2 separate regions of the Homo sapiens genome follow, and region 2 is linked to region 1. Evidence: promoter capture Hi-C in human tissues and cell types (Jung and others, 2019). All regions are on one chromosome and are shown on one strand. The core of a region is centred on a gene start or on the middle of the fragment in contact, and the rest is flanking DNA. Distances in the headings are between cores, read along the strand shown. Region 1 holds the start of SERPINF2 (serpin family F member 2). Region 2 overlaps RPA1 (replication protein A1).

What was found. The method cuts DNA at HindIII sites, captures the fragments that hold promoters and counts their contacts. A contact is called where the count stands out against the background at its distance.
Region 2: a contact is called between a fragment that was not itself captured here and the fragment with the promoter of SERPINF2 in region 1, in 1 of the 25 tissues and cell types used here (pancreas).

Annotation. Positions count from the first base shown.
Region 1 is chr17:1,741,348-1,744,708 of GRCh38, reverse strand. SERPINF2 (serpin family F member 2) reads right to left here and starts at 1,838. Exons shown (of 10, transcript NM_000934.4): 1 at 1,801-1,838. The HindIII fragment of the contact is 23,738 bases long and covers 1-3,361 here.
Region 2 is chr17:1,886,573-1,889,933 of GRCh38, reverse strand. RPA1 (replication protein A1) reads right to left here. Exons shown (of 17, transcript NM_002945.5): 14 at 1,083-1,259. Among named protein-coding and RNA genes, the nearest start is that of RPA1, 58 kb to the right of the region's middle. The HindIII fragment of the contact is 3,558 bases long and covers 13-3,361 here.

The DNA.
Region 1 (3,361 bases), core at 589-3,088:
CAAAAACGTTCTCATTCTACAAGGCCCTGCGCTGTGAATCAGATCTGTGTCTGAATCCAGGCTACCTCTTGCCAAAGGACCTCGGCATTTCCCGTAACTCCACCAGGCTTGGCCTTACCTTGTAAAACGGTGGCACAAGTCCCTCACTCTTCTCACATGCATGGTGAGGACCAAAATAAGACCGTCTTTTTGGGATTTTTTGTTGTTTATTTTTTGAGACGGAGTTTCGCTCTCGTTGACCAGGCTGGAGTGCAGTGGCAGGATCTCGGCTCACCGCAACCTCCACCTCCCAGGTTCAAGCGATTCTCCTGCTTCAGCCTCCCGAATAGCTGGGATTACAGGCATGCACCACCACGCCTGGCTAATTCTGTATTTCTTAGTAGAAACGGGGTTTCTCTGTGTTAGTCAGGCTGGTCTTAAACTCCCGACCTCAGGTGATCCTCCTGCCTCGGCCTCCCAAAGTACTGGGATTACAGGCATGAGCCACTGCACCCGGCAAAAGACCATCTTTGTGGCCAGGCACGGTGGCTCAAGCCTGTAATCCCAGCACTTTGGGAGGCCAGGGGCAGGTGGATCACCTGAGGTCGGGAGTTCAAGACCAGCCTGGCCAACATGGTAAAACCCCATCTCTACTGAAAATACAAAATTAGCCAGGCGTGGTGGTGGGCCCCTGTAATCCCAGCTACTCGGGAGGCTGAGGCAGAGAACTGCTTGAACCCGGGAGGCGGAGGTTGCAGTGAGCCGAGATCACGCCACTGCACTCCAGCCTGGGCGACAGAGCAAGACTCTGTCTCAAAAAAATAAATAAGACCATCTTTGTAAACCCTGAGTACAATGCTTGGCACTCCCCCGATGGCTGGGGTCAGCTTGGCTCAAGGCCACCTCTTCTGGGAAGCCTGCCCTGAAGCCTCCACCGCAGAGCTCCAACACAGAGCTCCTACCCAGCCTGCTGCATCCATTTAGCCTGTCTTTTTTTTTTTTTTTTTTTTTTTTGAGATGGAGTTTCATTCTTATCATGCAGGCTGGAGTGCAATGGCACGATCTCGGCTCACTGCAACCTCCACCTCCTGGGTTAAAGCGATTCTCCTGCCTCAGCCTCCCGAGTAGCTGGGATTACAGGCATGTGCCACCATGCCTGGCTAATTTTGTATTTTTAGTAGAGACAGGGTTTCTCCATGTTGGTCAGGCTGGTCTCGAACTCCTGACCTCAGGTGATCCACCTGCCTCAGCCTCCCAAAGTGCTGGGATGACAGGCATGAGCCACCACGCCTGGCCCCAACCCGTCTTTCTCAGGCTGGTCAGGTCTTGCCCACAAGGCTGGACATACCTGTGAGGCCCTGAGGTCTCACCATGGGTGGCAAGGCAGCCAGAGAGCTGCCTTTTGACCCAGCAGCAGAGCCCAGTGAATGACTCTGGCCAGAGCCACCTCTGCACTTAGGAGCATCACAGGCCTCTGCTCCAGGCTGGCTCTGGGAAGGGCAGGTGTTGGTCTCAGGAGGATAAGTCAGAGCAGGTCTCAGCTACCTCCAGCCCACCCCCATCTTGGGGCCAACCCTTCTGGAGGATCCTTTGGTCCCCCCGGCCCCACCCCCATCCCACACAAGAGCCCTTGGCCAGGGCCCCGACTCCGACCTGGGCATTAGAATCTTCTTGCCAAGAACAGGCTCCAGTTTTTCAAGTCCCAGAAGAGGCTGGGGAGTGACAGGCCTCCTGAATAAATCCCAGACCCCTCAGCCAGGGAGGCAGCTCCCTCCTCCTCTCCTACCCAAGGAGCAGGCCGAGCAGCCCCTCCCCTCATACCTCTGCGGGCTCCTTGCTGCCACACACAACGTTCCTCTGGCCCCACTTGGGTGCTCCTCACTCTCTGCCCAGGCTCCAGCTGGCCCAGCCCACCCCTCCCCTCCCACCAGGACCTTTACTCTCAGCCAACCCCTGTTCAGATTGCTTTCTCTTCTGGTAAATATTGACTTGCACATCCAGTTAAACATTGATCTTGAAGCCAGAAGCCCCTTTCCCACCAGGGCATCTAACCCTGAGGCAGCCACGCAGAACCCCCTATATTTGGGTCCCCCCCCCCGAGCCTGGAAAGAGAAAGTTCAGGAGGAGAGAGTTGAAGAGACTGGATCTGGCTAGCCAAGAGGGCGGATCCAGAAAGCACAGGAACCTAGCACTGTGTTAAGCCTTCCAGAGACCCCACGAGGTGTGGATTATCCCTGGTTCAGCCAGGCTCAGAGAGGCCATGTGACCTGCCCAAGGACACAGAGCTGGGCTGAGGCACATCCAGATTCTCACTCCCAATGTCCTTTCTTCTCCCAGAGAGCTGCCTCCCGCTCCTGAGGGGAGGAAAGGGGAAGCCACAAGAGCCTATGCAGAGAGCCCAGGATAGGAAGCCCACCCCCAACCTTCCAAGCCCAGGATCAGGTTGGCTGCCTTCAGACTGGGATGGAAGGCAGGGGGTGAGGGAGGAGAAATGAGAGGGACTCAACTTCTCCCACCGTCCTGCCACTCCAGAGCAATGTCTCTTTCCCCTACCCAAGAGCGAGGGTTCTGGAAACTGACCTGGGGCTGTATGAACCAGAAGCCTGGCAGCCCGTGCAAAGATCAGGCTGCTTCCCACCCTCACTGTCCGGCTCCTCACTCCCTGCATCAGGCTCCTTCCCACCCTCACTGTCCTGCTCCTCACTCCCTGTATCAGGCCCCTTCCCACCCTCACTGTCCTGCTCCTCACTCCCTGCATCAGGCCGCTTCCCGCCCTCACACCTGCTCCTCACTCCCTGCATCAGGCTCCTTCCCACCCTCACTGTCCGGCTCCTCACTCCCTGCATCAGGCTCCTTCCCACCCTCACTGTCCGGCTCCTCACTCCCTGCATCAGGCTCCTTCCCACCCTCACTGTCCTGCGCCTCACTCCCTGCATCGGGCCACTTCCCACCCTCACTGTCCTGCTCCTCACTCCCTGCATCAGGCCGCCTCCCACCCTCACTGTCCGGCTCCTCACTCCCTGCATCAGGCCGCCTCCCACCCTCACTGTCCTGCTCCTCACTCCCTGCATCAGGCTCCTTCCCACCCTCACTGTCCTGCGCCTCACTCCCTGCATCAGGCCACTTCCCACCCTCACTGTCCTGCTCCTCACTCCCTGCATCAGGCTCCTTCCCATCCTCACTGTCCAGCTCCTCACTCCCTGCATCAGGCTCCTTCCCACCCTCACTGTCCGGCTCCTCACTCCCTGCATCAGGCTCCTTCCCACCTTCACTGTCCTGCTCCTCACTCCCTGCATCAGGCTCCTTCCCACCCTCACTGTCCTGCGCCTCACTCCCTGCATCAGGCTCCTTCCCACCCTCACTGTCTTGCGCCTCACTCCCT
Region 2 (3,361 bases), core at 542-3,041, 150 kb before region 1:
CTGCCTCCCGGGTTCAAGCGATTCTCCTGCCTCAGCCTCCCGAGTAGCTGGGACTACAGGCACCCGCCACCACGCCCGGCTAATTTTTGTATTTTTAGTAGAGACAGGGTTTCACCATGTTGGCCAGGCTGGTCTCAAACTCCTGATCTCAGGTGACGCACCCGCCTCGGCCTCCCAAAGTGCTGGGATTACAAAAGTGAGCCACTGTGCCCGGCCTTAAACTGTTTTCTTAAACTGCTATTATCGCCTAGTTCTATCATTGAAAACAAAACAAAACAAAATAAAAATCTTAAGGCCGGGTGCAGTGGCTCAGGCTTGTAATGCCAGCACTTTGGAAGGCTGAGGTGGGAGGATGACATGAGGCCAGGAACTTGAGACCAACCTGAACAGCAGAGCGAGACCCTGTCTCTACAATAAAATAATTTTAAAAATTAGCTGGGTGTGGTGGTGCACAGCTGTAGTTGCAGCTACTTGGGAGGCCAAGGTGGAAGGACTGCTTAAGCCCGGGAGGTTGGGGCCACCATGAGCTGTGATGATACCATTGCACTCTATTCTGGGCAACAGAGTGAGACCCCTGTTTCTTAAAAAAAAAAAAAAATTTTTTTAAACCCAACTTTACAACTTTTTTAAAAAGGTTTTTAAAACAGAAAGAAACAATTCTTAAAATGCAAAAAAGCAACAATCTCACATCAGCACACCGTCACATTCCTCTGAAGTCAGCTATACTAAAGCTAGAGAATAGATTATCCACATGAAAGTGACTAAATACGGGCATTGGCTGTGTAAGTACAATTAGTGCTGTCTATAAATGCCGTTTTCAAATTAATTTATCTTCATAGCAGTTAGCAGGCAAGTGTCACTGACGCTATGGCTGTATGACGTGCATGAAAGACTGAATCAGCTGGGGTATCTCAACACCACTTTCTGGCATGAAAAAGCGGATGGATAAGCTCTTCCACACCTACTCATCTGCGGGCTTCCTACCAGGAATGCTTTGTCTCTACTGTTGTGACCACAGTGCCTGGCACACGGGAGGGCCTCCGTGAACACAACCGTGGTTCTCATCTACCGAGGCTACTTACTGACAGGATCATGCGGTACTTGAAATTGGGAAATTCGGTGTCGCACTTCTCACAGCGGTACAATCCATTCTGTTGATCAATCACTTTCTTATTGCAGTCCTGAGTCGGGCAGGCTTGGTACATGCAGTTCTCTTTGCGAAGATACACCACTGTGGCCACAGAACTAAAGTAGTCCGGCTTCGGGAGAAAAGAACAGCATGAGGCACGGAGTCGCGAGCCCGCCCAGGATCGGACCGAGAGGCAGCTCAAAGCCTGCCCTTACGTTTAGGTGGTAAGTGTTTCTACATCCTCAAGATTACACATGATCACAGGGAATCATTCATTCTGTAGTTTTAGAAATCACATGTGCCGAGTACAAAACCCATGAAGGTAATAAGCCAAGTTCTAATAAGCCAAGTTCTGAGGCAGATAATTCCTTCACAATAAAAGAGTTAATCCTAAATTACACTAAGTTAATTAAAAGTGAAATTGTTTTCCTGTTTGCTTGAACACTGTATGAAAGACAAAGATTTGTTCCTCCCGATCCTCTGACCCTCCAAAGGCCACAGATCTAGGAAATACAGAATGCGGACCACAAACACCCAGTGCAGCAACGATCAACCATCCCTCCCGCGCTCAAAACACGGCAGTCGTGTCTAGGCCTAGATTCACCTTTTCCTTGTTTAGGCCAGGGATCAGCAAGCTGCTTCTGTAAAAAGCCAAACAGTAAATATTTCAGGCCTTAGCAGCCATTTGGTCACAGTCTCTGCTGCAACTACAGACACACCTCACTTTATTGTGCTTTGCTTTACTGCACTTGACAGATACGGCATTTTTTACAGATTGAAGACTTGTGGCACCCCTGGGTCAAGTAAATGCACTATTTTCCCAATAGCAGGTGCTCACTTTATGTCTCTGTGTCACATAAAGACAGTAATTCTTGCAAGATTTCAAACTTTTTCATTATATATGTATTTTTTGAGACAGAGTCTCGCTCTGTCGCCCAGGCTGGGGTGCAGTGAGTGGTGTAATCTCTGATCACTGCAGCCTCCACCTCCCAGGTTCAAGTGATTCTCCTGCCTCAGCCACCCAAGTAGCTGGGACTACAGGCGTGCACTACCACGCCTGGCTAATTTTTGTATTTTTTAGTAGAGATGGGGTTTTGCCATGTTGGGTAGGCTGGTCTCGAACTCCAAACCTCAAGTGATCCACCCACCTTGGCCTCCCGAAGTGCTAGGATTATAGGAGTAAGCCACCATGCCTGGCCCTTTTTCATTATTATCATATCTGTTATGGTGATTTTTTTTTTTTTTCTGAGACGGAGTCTCGCTCTGTCACCAGGCTGGAGTGCAGTGGCATGATCTCAGCTCACTGAAATCTCCGCCTCCCAGGGTCAAACGATTCTCCTGCCTCAGCCTCCCGAGAAGCTGGGACTACAGGCATGCACCACTACGCCCAGCTAATTTTTGTATTTTTAGTAGAGACGGGGTTTTAACCACGTTGGTCAGGATGGTCTCGATCTCCTGACTTCAGGTGATCCGCCTGCCTCAGCCTCCCAAAGTGCTGGGATTACAGGAATGAGCCACCGCGCCTGGCCTACAGTGATCTTTAACGTCACTATTGTAGTTGTTCTGGGGTGCCACCAACTACACCCATATAAGATGGGGAACTTATATTGATGAATGTTGTATGTATGCTGACTGATCCTCCAATCAAGTATTCCTGTCTCTCTTCTTTGAATACACAAATAAGAAAGCAAACAGCCTTACTGCTGATATGGAGTAAGCTGTAGTGGTCTAGATAGAATATCAAGCAAGCCACAACATTCTCTTAAGCCAAAGCCTAACCCAGAGCAAGGCCTCACCTTTCTTCAATTCTGTGAAGGCTGAGAGAGGTCAGGAAGCTGCAGAAGAGGCCAGGTGCAGTGGCTCACACCTGTAATCCCAGCACTTTGGGAGGCAGAGGCAACATGATTGCCTAAGCCAAGGAGTTCGATACCAGCCAGGCAACATAGTGAGACCTAGTCTCTACAAAAATCTGTCAGGGCACGGTGGTGTGCACCTGTAGTCCCAGCTACTCCAGAGGCTGAGGTGAGCTGTGATTGCACCACTGCACTCCAGCCTGGGTGACAGAGTGAGACTCTGTCTCAAAAAAAAAAAAAAAAAAAGCTGCAGAAGAAAAGATGGCAGCCAGCAGATGTTGGTTCATGAGGTTTAAGGAAATAAGCCGTCACCATAACAAAAGTGCAAGGTGAAGCAGCAAGTGCTGATGGAGAAGCTGCAGCAAGTTATCCAGAAGAT